Linked DNA regions of Homo sapiens: region 2 is linked to region 1. Evidence: promoter capture Hi-C in human tissues and cell types (Jung and others, 2019). All regions are on one chromosome and are shown on one strand. The core of a region is centred on a gene start or on the middle of the fragment in contact, and the rest is flanking DNA. Distances in the headings are between cores, read along the strand shown. Region 1 holds the start of FOXC2 (forkhead box C2). Region 2 has its middle 88 kb from the start of C16orf95.

Evidence for each region. The method cuts DNA at HindIII sites, captures the fragments that hold promoters and counts their contacts. A contact is called where the count stands out against the background at its distance.
Region 2: a fragment that was not itself captured here is called in contact with the fragment with the promoter of FOXC2 in region 1 in 1 of the 25 tissues and cell types used here (lymphoblastoid cells).

What each region holds. Positions count from the first base shown.
Region 1 is chr16:86,562,873-86,568,185 of GRCh38, reverse strand. FOXC2 (forkhead box C2) reads right to left here and starts at 1,357. Exons shown (of 1, transcript NM_005251.3): 1 at 1-1,357. The coding sequence starts at 850. FOXC2-AS1 (FOXC2 antisense RNA 1) reads left to right here and starts at 425. Exons shown (of 2, transcript NR_125795.1): 1 at 425-569; 2 at 2,868-3,041. RefSeq lists enhancers at 54-637, 638-1,222. The HindIII fragment of the contact is 12,739 bases long and covers 1-5,313 here.
Region 2 is chr16:87,227,025-87,232,544 of GRCh38, reverse strand. No RefSeq gene overlaps it. Among named protein-coding and RNA genes, the nearest start is that of C16orf95, 88 kb to the left of the region's middle. The HindIII fragment of the contact is 7,930 bases long and covers 1-5,520 here.

The DNA.
Region 1 (5,313 bases), core at 108-2,607:
CCGGCGGCGACGTTCGCAGGGTCATGATGTTCTCCACGCTGAAGCCAGGCAGCCCGTTGGGCGCCGCGGCGTGGTGCTCCGGCAGCGAGCCGTCGGGGGAGCCGGCGGGCGTGGAGGCCGCGCTGCGCGGGCTGCCCTGCAGCGCGCTCTCGGGGCTCAGCGTCTCCACCTTGGTGATGACCGGCAGCGCCGGGGACGCCGCCTCGCTCTTGATCACCACCTTCTTCTCGGCCTCCTTGGGGGCGTCCGCTAGGTGGGGGGTGGCCGGGGCGCCCTTGGACGCCGCCGGGGGCGGCTCCTTGAGGTGGGCCCGCTCCTCCTTCTCCTTGGACACGTCCTTCTTTTTGAAGCGCCGCCGGCGCCGCAGGAAGCTGCCGTTCTCGAACATGTTGTAGGAGTCCGGGTCCAGGGTCCAGTAACTGCCCTTGCCGGGCTTCTTGTCGTCGCGGGGCACCTTGACGAAGCACTCGTTGAGCGAGAGGTTGTGGCGGATGCTGTTCTGCCAGCCCTGCTTGTTCTCCCGGTAGAAGGGGAAGCGGTCCATGATGAACTGGTAGATGCCGTTCAAGGTGATCTTCTTCTCGGGCGCGTTCTGGATGGCCATGGTGATGAGCGCGATGTAGCTGTAGGGCGGCTTCACCAGGTCCTTAGGCGCCGCGGGCTGGTGGTGGTGGTAGGGCGCGTAGGAGCGGCCCATCCCCGCGCTGTACTGCTCCGGGTGGCCGGAATAGACGCCCATGGGGCTGGCCATGCCGCCGTAGCTGCCCGCAGCCCGGTAGTAATTCTGCTCGCTCAGGTAGGGCACCACTCCCAGGGCGTTGGGGTCGGACACGGAGTAGCGCGCCTGCATGCTGCTTCCGAGACGGCTCGCCGGCGCCCTCGCGCACGGACTGCGGCCGGGGGAGCGAGGGGGGCCCTGAGAGCGAGAGAGCGCGAGAGAGCCAGAGGGGGAGAGGAGGGGAGCGGGAGGGGCGGCCCCGGGCTCCTGGCAGCCTCCGGGGCGAGGGTGCGCGGGCGGCGGCGCTCGGGCCGAGCAGGGGCGCGCGCTTTCAGCGGACCGGGCGGATCGGCATCCTGGAGGGCGCGCCCCGGGCAAGCGCAGCGCCGGCCCCGCTCCTCGCTGGCTCCAGGACCCGGCGGCGGCAGCGCGGGCAGGCGGGCGGCCGCGGACCCAGCGGAGACGCCGCGGCCTGGGGACCCAGGTGGACCCTCGGCCCGCGCGAGGAGGGGCGCAGGAGGCTCTCCAAGCCCCCAGCGAATCGGCAGCCCCGAGGGTCAGCGCGCCGGGGTCCGAGCGGCTGCCCCGCTGAGCCCAGAAAAAGAGGCCAAGTCCCTTTTAGGGATTGGGAAAAGTTTCAAAAGTCTTCTTGCTGAAAGCGAGTTTTTACTTTCCTCGGGCCACGCCCCCTCCCGGAACTTTGAGCCAATCACCCGGCAGCTGAGAGGAGTCGGCGCCAATCGGGGCGAGGAGCGCAGGAATCCGTCGGCTCTAAGACCCCGCCGCCCCGGCCTCCGCGGCGACTCCGTCTTCACTTGAAAACTTTTTAAAAAGTTATATCTTATTAAAATTTATTTTATGATCACATTTTGGTGAATGGGCCCACATGCCCAAAACAAAAAGATAGCCACTTTCCTCTGTTAAAAAAAATCAATTTGAAATATAAAATAGAATGGATTAATAGAGTAAAATATCTCTCCCAAAGACCTTGTAAGTAGCAATGATCCTGGGACATTTTTCTTATTAATGAGTGATGAAGCGAATAATTAGATTTCCTAATTATGGGGGCCCAGGTGTAATGGATTCAAAGCAAACGCGCTGGATTGGAATGGCAGGGCCTCTCCTGGATGTTATACTTATTTAATCAAATAATTAATCATCAACAGGGAGTTTCCAGGCTCGGGGTCGTCAAGGATAACCTATCGAGGTTTTAGAGGTAAACCCTACAAACTGAGTTTCCCTCGCTCCCCGCCGAGGAGCCAGGCAGCGGAGTGCATAGAGGGGAAGGTAGCAACGTGCTGACTGACAACTTAATCCTCCGAATTCGCGGGGAATTCGGTAGATCATCCGCGTCGCTGCGAGCAGTTTTGTGGGGTTTGGGGAAAAGGGTGAAGTGACTCTGCTATTTCCCCCTTTCGTCTCCCGCGTGGACACTCGCAGCCTACCAACTTCAGCTTCGAAACTCGTCTCCCTTTTCCCAGGTAGAAATTCCCTCTAACAAGCTGACCCCGCACTCCCAGAAGACCGGGACAATGCAGCGACCCACCCGGGCCAGGCAGAGCCGAGTTCCTGGGCCCTGCGAGGAGAAACCCGAGCCTGTTTTCCGCGGGGGCTTGGCTCGAAGGCGCGCGCAATGAGCGCCGCGCACCGCGGGCACCAAGCGTGGACGTTTCCCGTGGCCCAGGCCGGCGCCGGCCGCTAACACCGACCCTAGGGCGCTGTCCCTGCCTCCTGCTCCTGGCAACGTCCCCCTGGGAGCCTCCAAGTTGCTTTTCTATATTTCAGCCTTTTTTTTGTTTTGTTGGGTGGGTAGGGTGAGTTAGGGAGCGCGCTCCGTGGGAAGACTGGGTGAGCGGTTGATTGCAAACGGTTCAAGATCCCTTCGGGATGATATTATTCGGCAGGCAGACCTGGAGCGACTTGGATCTCCTTCAAGGATTTCTCCTTCCCTCTAGGAATCCCGGACAGTTTGTTTATTTGTGGACTGATTATTTATTCCTTCCACACCTCAATAATCAGATCCCCTTTTCCCACTTTCCCTGAAGGAGTGAGACACCCCTTTAACAAGGCTAAACACGGGCAGAATTTTGGAAGTTGCTGGTCTGGTTGGGCAGGGAAGAGGGCTTCAGGGAGAACATTTGTATTTCAGGTTTCCTTGCACCCTTCCTGGCTGTTCATCGGCTGCGTATTCGATTCTCAGCAAAAGGATGTTGAGACAACCCACCAGGCCTCTTCGCTTCGGCCTCTTCGCTTCGGGGAGGCGACTAGAAGGCAATGGGGCGTGCCACTTATTTCCAATAAAAGAACAGAAGACGAAAATGTAGATGCATTATCTTTGTCTCCTGATCAATTCAAAGCCAAAGGGAAGCTACAAATCAGGTTCCTTTACCTTGAATATTCCACTTCTGAAACATTGTTTTTATGAGTATTCTGGGCTCTTTTTCTAACCTGATCCTTTTTCTTCTTTCTTTGAAACAAAGTAAAATAAAGCTGCCCAGTTCTCAGCTCACAGGCAAATGATTTGAGCTTTCTGCCCCAACCCTAAACTCCCACCATGACTTTATTATTTTTAATAAGCTAGTATTTCCGCATCTAGCTTAAAAAAAAAAAAGGACTAGCAAAAAGTGCCCTTCTCCTGCAGCGCATGACAGGCACACTGAGTTCGTGTCACGATTTTACTGGAAATGCAAACTATTGATCAAGAAACACTCCTCAGCCTGTAGGCTTCCTGGAGGAATATTATTTACTCTGCTTTTACGAGGGGTGTGTGTGTGTGTGTGAGAGAGAGAGAGAGAGAGAAACAGCTTTATCACAGCAAAACCTAAAATAGCTAAGGACTATGAAAAAATAAATTCCAAAATGGCAGTTGCTGCCTACGTTTGTATTCACAAGGGTGTCCCGGTTTAAACCAATGTCATCTGGGGAAACAAACAAACAAACAAACAAACACCTAAATCGAGTCGCCCAATATATTATCCACCCTCCCCCGCCCCAAAGAAAGGAAAAGGGGAGGGGAAAGAAATTCGTCTCATCAAGACAGAAAAGGTGAGAGAGACACTTCCCTTTACCCCTGGAATTAGGTTTCTTGTTTGCTCAGTGGGACTCCGGGAAAGATGTTTGTTCAGGTTATTAAAACAACGCCTTCCATACACCTGGACTTTGCAAAAACCGTATTTCCCAGCTTTTCTTTAACCTGCCAGGGTATTTCGGATGGGGGGCTGCTACTTTCTGGCTGATTTTCCCCCTTCTTGACCTTGTAAGTCAGTGAGCCGAACGCGGAATCGGGTCCCAGAGGGCCTCGCGTGTTCCTGGAATAATAAGCGGCGATAAAGCCTAAAGGTATTTAATTCGCCTTCCGCCCCCACCGCGCTGCGCTCCTCCCGGCCCGTGGCCGCTGCACCTGGAGCGGCTGGGCGGACTCCGTGGGTGTTGGCGTCATCTTGAGGCCAACCAGGGAACTACTACGAGAAAAGGAAAAAGAAAAAGACCGCCCGGCCCGCCCTGCTTATCATGAAGGTGCTGACACCTTGTGGATACTCCTGGGCATTGCACGGCTGGAATGGAGCCTTCAGAAATCTGTAAAAGCAGAGAAAGGAGATAAACTGCATCGCGTCGATTAAAAAACATTTCCCGTAACTTCGCAACGTGTCAAGAACATGATCTGTTGGGAAACAAAAATGTCTTTGAAACTGCTCGGGGAGCAAGAAATTTTCTCTAGGGAAACTTGCTGGGGTTTTCCCCAAATAAAATCTATGCCTCTTAGGTGGCTAGAAGTCTGCATTTTCTTCCCCCGGAGTTGTTGAACAAATTGCCTCGTCCATGTTTTCCCGCTGCAGCTGTCTTTCTGCCCGAGGTGTGGCGTGAGCTTCAGGGAATTCATCAGAAAGCTGTTTGTGCTGGTCGTGTGTTTAGAGGGTTGGCTTGAACAAGAGGCAGACTTTGAAACTGGGCAGCAGCCACTTCTACTTTTGAGGTACAACAGAGAACTCAAAGAGGGGACAAGTGAAAGGAGTTTTGTTTCTTGTCTCACTATTTCCCATTCATTCATTTCAATATCCTTCAAACATTTCTTTTCTGGGGTCACGAGGTGCCTTGGTTTTGAGGAAAGGGATCGGGTGGCAGAGGAGTCCCAGGCTTCCAGAAGCTGCCTGAGAACCGAGGAGCCCTTGGGTTACACAAAGTCGGCGCCACCTCCTAAAAATCCATTGTAATCCGGCTTCTAAACTTTTGTGGGACAAAAAAAGTGTCTTTTCTAAAACTCAGTTCAAGCTCATTTTACTGTGTGTGAGTTTTCCGGTGAGTGAAAGCCATGCTGCGCCATCGACAAAGGGCAGGGCCAGAAAGGACTACAGAAGCGGGTGGGTAGTGAGAACTGCTGTTGGTCACAAGGATTAAAGAAACTCAACAAGTAAACGCAACCCTCAATCCTAGGCGGAAGAAATTTTTTTTTCTTTTTTCTTTTTTTCCTGTTGTTGTTGAGACGGAGTCTTGCTCTGTCGCCCACGCTGGAGTGCAGTGGCACGATCTCCGCTCACTGCAGGCTCCGCCTCCCGGGTTCACGCCATTCTCCTGCCTCAGCCTCCCGAGTAGCTGGG
Region 2 (5,520 bases), core at 1,547-4,046, 660 kb before region 1:
TTCATAGGGTAAGTGCAAGGAGAGGGTGTTGTTCTGTGTTATGGAGGCTCAGACAGGTCGAGTGATTAGCAAGAGGCACACTGACGATGTTGTGTATGTGCCACCCCACACTCTTGGGGGCTGTCTGATCAAGCTGAAGGGACTTAAGAGCAAAGACCTCAAGTTGATAAGAGTGGCCACCAAGGTGATTACAGCACCACATGCACCTGCTGTGTCAGCCTTTGCTCAGTGAAGAGACCCTGGTTTCATGCTGAACAGTGCATGGGAGTGATGTTTAACACATCTCCAGAATAAACCAGTGGCTTAGCATGGAGCATCAACACTGCTAGCATCACGACACAAGAGACCAGAGACTCTTGATGGCAAAGCACACCATGGCTCATGAAGCAACCTTGCCCAAAACCTCAGCCCTGAACCTAACTGGGCCTCCTGATCCAACCACCAATTTTCAGGAAACATGAAGGACAGAAGCACAAGTTAAATGACACTATGATGATGCAGCCAGCTGCACTTAGACTATGGGGAGACCCTGTTGGACAAATGTCCTGGTTTCTTTAACACTTCTCTCTCTCTCCAAATATATATATATATATATATATATATACACACACATATATACACACATATATATACATATATATACACACACATATATATACACACACATATATACACGTATATATATACACACATATATATATACACACACACAGATACATGCACACACACACACACAAACTCACAGAGAGAGAGAGAATGAATAATCCATGTAAGAAAAAGACTTAAAAGTCATATCAAGCTATTATAACTTGGGGCCTTTATTTGGATTCTGATTTGAACTGTTAAAAATAATTCATAATGTTACGAGGGACTGGAAATTAGAACACTGCCTAGAAACTTGATAGCATTAAGAAACTACTGTTATGTTTGAGTGTGACAGTGGCACCGTAATCTGGGTGGATAGCGTAGGGGTGAAACAGGATTGGACAGGAGTTGATCACTGGCAAGGCTGGAAGCTGGGGAGAGGCACACTGGGGTTTGTTACATTGCTGTTTGTATGGTTGCATGTATTTGAATTTTTCCATAAGAAAAAGTAAATAAAGGACTTGTTTACTTGCCTAAAGCAGTACCGCTCTTGGAAATGATTCAAACAATATAAAAGCAAAGTAAAACATTAAAGTGTCTAATTCTTCCAGTTAGTTTCCCTTTCAGGTAACCACTGTCTAAGAGTTTGATGTAAATCCTTCTAGACTTTCTAATGTCTGTATAAACAATCACATACCTTTATACTTTTTTTACACAAATAGGATTATACTACACACATGGATCTGCAATGTGGCTTTTTCTCTGAGCAATGTCATGGCCAATCCTTCATGTTCTAGCTGCATTTCTTTCTTTTTAACTTCACCGTATGCCTTTGTATGGATGTACCATGATTTATTTCACCATTCCCTTTGGGTAAACTTTTAGATTGATTTGAGCCTTTTGCTATTACAAGTCGTGCTTCAGTGAATGTCCTTGCACATATACCTTGGTGCATTTTTGTGAGGATTTGTGTCAAATGTGGTCTTAGAAGGAGAATTGTTCTGTTGGAACATGTGCTGCCAGAATGTCCTCCATAAAATTGTCCTCTCTGATGCTAATGAAGTGGGCTATGTCCCTGCCCAGCCTTAAAAATGTGGTTGAGTTTTCCTCCGATCATGTAAGAAGTACATGCATTTTGAAGGAATTTGGAAAGTACAGAAAAGGAAAGAAGAAAGTAAACACCAGCCAGATTTCCACATGTCATACGTATTGCTGTTCATTGAGATTGTTTCCAAGTATTTGCTATTGGAAGTCATGCTGCAAGAACAGCCTTGTGTATAAATCTTTATCCACATTGTGCTCGTTTCCTTAGGGGCTATTCCGCAGCAGGAATTATTGAGTAAAACCTTTGGGCTAATTTTAGGATACCTGTACTATGCCATCCAAGCAAATACTAGGATGTTTGTATAAGTGGTGACCACCACAAGCAATGCAGTAGAGGGCCTGTCTTTGTATATCTTGTCCAGTGTTCAGTATTACCACCAAACCATTATCTTTTTCTTTATTGCCCATTTGCAATAAAATGTGCTCTTTCACTTTTTCTCCTTCTGATTTGTGATGCTCAATAAAGGCCATAGGTTAATTACTAATATAGTTAGTGACACAGGCTCTGAACTTGGGCTACCTGAGCTCACAACCCAGCTACACCTTGTGGCTCACCTTTTTGGAGCCTCATCTTCTGCAGACTGGGGACATCGTTGTATCTATTATGAAATGAGGCAACCCACATGAAGCACAGGGCCGAGTGTCTGAACACAGGGCAGCCGCTGAATTGTGATGACGCTGATACTGTCTACAAGAAAAACATGAGGTATGGGATTTTGGAGCTTAGGAAATAGCTGAGAAAACAAAACTTAGAAAGATTAGATTAGAGACAGGAGGTTAGGGCTATATGAGCGGTATCTTAAGGTATCTTCATTGGATGGAGATGGGAGAGAGCTCCCTGAGGGCTTCCTGGAAGAAGGGGAAGCTGAGCAGAGTCTTGAAGGGCAAGGACAGGGAGGCAGGGGAATGGAGCCAGCAGAAACAGGATGGATGGGGGCGTGCACGCTCCCCTCCTTCTCTCCTGCCTGTCATTGTTCACGCTGGGCATCCATCACCCTGATGAGGGCCGAGGGGAGAGCTGGGCCAGTGACTAACCACTGCACAGCAGGAATAAAAACACTTGACCCTCTGGTGGGAGGAATTCAGCTGGAGTGGGAAATTTTATTTTGAATAATTAGCTAATATCACTGGGGAGATTTCATAACAAAGACAGAGAAATATGGAAAAGTACTTCGCAGCAGAAAAAAATGAGCATTTCCCCCACCCCAATTCCATTAGCACCGACAGGAATAAAGCTCCTGTATTATACAATGCCTTGGTTTCTCAGAGGAAGCCTGCAGAGTGTGGAGTGCATCTGTAAGGCGTGAAGAATGGGCTCGGCTGACTGCATGGCTGCTCTTCCACTTGGGCTGGGTGGAGGTCCGGGAATGGCAATGTCATCTTGAGAAGCCTCCCAGGAGCTGAATGTGCCCAGAATTGGCGCACGGTGGGGGCAGGAAGAGCTTTGCTGGGAGGAGGCCCAGGGGGTGAGTAGAGTGACGCTCCCCAAGGGCTGGAGGCATTGATAGCGGAGGCTACAGTGGGCGACAGCAGTGGGTTCCTCAGTTCTTCTGACAATTCGGGGCCAGCTCACATGGGTCCAAGAAGCCCTAATGGGCAGAAGAAGGTTGACAAGACCACACGCAGAAATCCTGAGACACAGCTGGTGCTTTCTGAAGATCTGATAAAGAGTGGAGGGTCTGACAGTGAGGGTCCGAGGGAACTTGTGGGTTTGTCTGTAAATTAGGATGTTTTAGGGGTCCACGGTACTGGTTAGGCTGGTCTCGAGTATTTAGTGTGGTTTTGGACAACATCATTATTTGGAGTCTGTAAAATGGGTATCATGATGTCCACCTCACAGATGTGATGGTAAAGAAGGGGACGTATGTCAGGTGCTGTCTGGCCCTCTGTGCTGGGCGACAAGCCATCCCAAAACACAAAGGCTTATAACGACAACCTTGAATTGTGTCTCGTGATTCTGTGAGCCAGTGGGGCTTGGCTGGTGGTTCTCCCACTGTCTGTCTTGGGGTCTCTCATGAGATTGCCGTGAGGTGGTGGCTGTGGCTGTGGCAGGAGTGGCCTCTCTCTCTAGGGATAATCCATGTGGCTGTTCCCTCCAATGGCATGACCTGGATTTCTTGCCTGACTCTCCGAGAGAGGAAGCGACACTGCCAGGTCCTTTTAATACCTGCCGTGGAAGACCCAAAGGTCGCTTCCTCTGCGTTCCATTGGCCAAGCAGGCCCAGCCCAGAGTCAAGGGCAGGGGTGCAATCTCAACTTTCGATGGGTGGCCAGGGGCTCCTGTGTACAGGGTGGGTGGAGTCATTTGGGGTGTTTGGCGATCATCTTGCCCAGGTGCTTTACCCTGGGGCAGACACTCAGATGCAAGGCATCTTACCATGACTGTGGCGAAAAGATTGGATTTTACCACACTTGTTTGAAAATAACCTCTGCCCTGAGGTCCTGGGCCTTCCTTTTGCAGCAGCCATTCCCCAGTGTCTCCCCTCCAGATGTCCTCATAATCCAGCAATTAAGGGGGTAACGCCTGGCATAGCCGGGGAGAGGGCTGCTGAGACCAGTTCCAGTAAGTTCTGATCTGCTACTGCGTGTGGTTATTGAGTATTTTGAATATCACCTGCAGGGCAGTCTCTCTGTATAGTAGCTGCTCAAGTAATGGGAACGTCTTTCATTCCTACTCATGTTGCTATTGTTATTTTAAGACAGGGGTTTAGACATTGCACTTTGGGAACAAAAGAGAATATGCTACCAGCCTCCAGAAATTCTGCACCATTCAGTTTTCCTTTTGGAAAAAGCCCTAGGTGTCAAATAGGAAAATCAACTCTTTTGACTTGATTTTCTACTTGGTCAAGGTAATGAAAGCCCCAAGCTGCAAACTGAGAGTAGGACGATATCAACACAAAAACAACCTCTGTCCTGGCGGTCCCTTGGCTCTCCCTCCCTGACGGCCTGTTCCAGGCAGCCTGCGCGATGGCCCAGATCTGGGCCCCGGCCCAGCCTTCGGCCCCATTTCCTGAGCTTGCTGACTGAGCCGTCTCCTTAGCACTCGGGTGCACATTCCAGGGAATCTTGACGGCGAGGCCCTTTCTCCCAGCCCAATTTCAACAAACACAGGCAGACCACCACAATCCGGCTTGCAACGTGGGGCTGGCACCACAGGCCTTGGCAGTGGGGAACACACATCTCCGGGGCCAGGGCAGCAGATGTGGGCCTTTCAGGCCGCACCACCTCCAGGCAGAGCAGGAGGCCCTGGGGGTGGCCGAGAGGGGAGCAGAGCTACTGGGGGGGCTGCGGCCTCTGCAAAGCGACTCTGGCACTCCTCCCTCACTGGGGCGAAGCCGGTCTGTCAGGGCAGCTCATCGGAATGTCCAAATGCACTCTGCGATTCCCATGGCTGTGGCCCAAAAGCAACCTCCAGGCAGATGGGAAAGTCTGCCTTTTTGTATGAACGTGAAACATTCTTTAAAGACTGCTCATCTTTGTGTCCTGTTTGGAAATTGTCGGAGGCCTGAGAGAATGGAAACCGCCTGTTCCATTAGGGTCCCAGGTCTGGAGTTGGGAAGGATGGAATTTGGACTTTTCTTGGAAAGTCCACAAGAACTAAACCTGTTTAGAGAACATTTCCTGTTGGGAATGGCTAATGCCTGGAATATGTTACTGAAGGTCTCATTTTTTGGAGATTTTTATAAGGAAAATAACCTCACAGTTCTGGGGGGGGATGATCATATGCTGTTCTTGTGGGAGAGTTGACCTCATCTGTATAATCCAAGTTCCCCAACCTTTAACCACAGCAGGCATGGCTGATTGATCTCAGAACTTTGTCCCACTGACCTT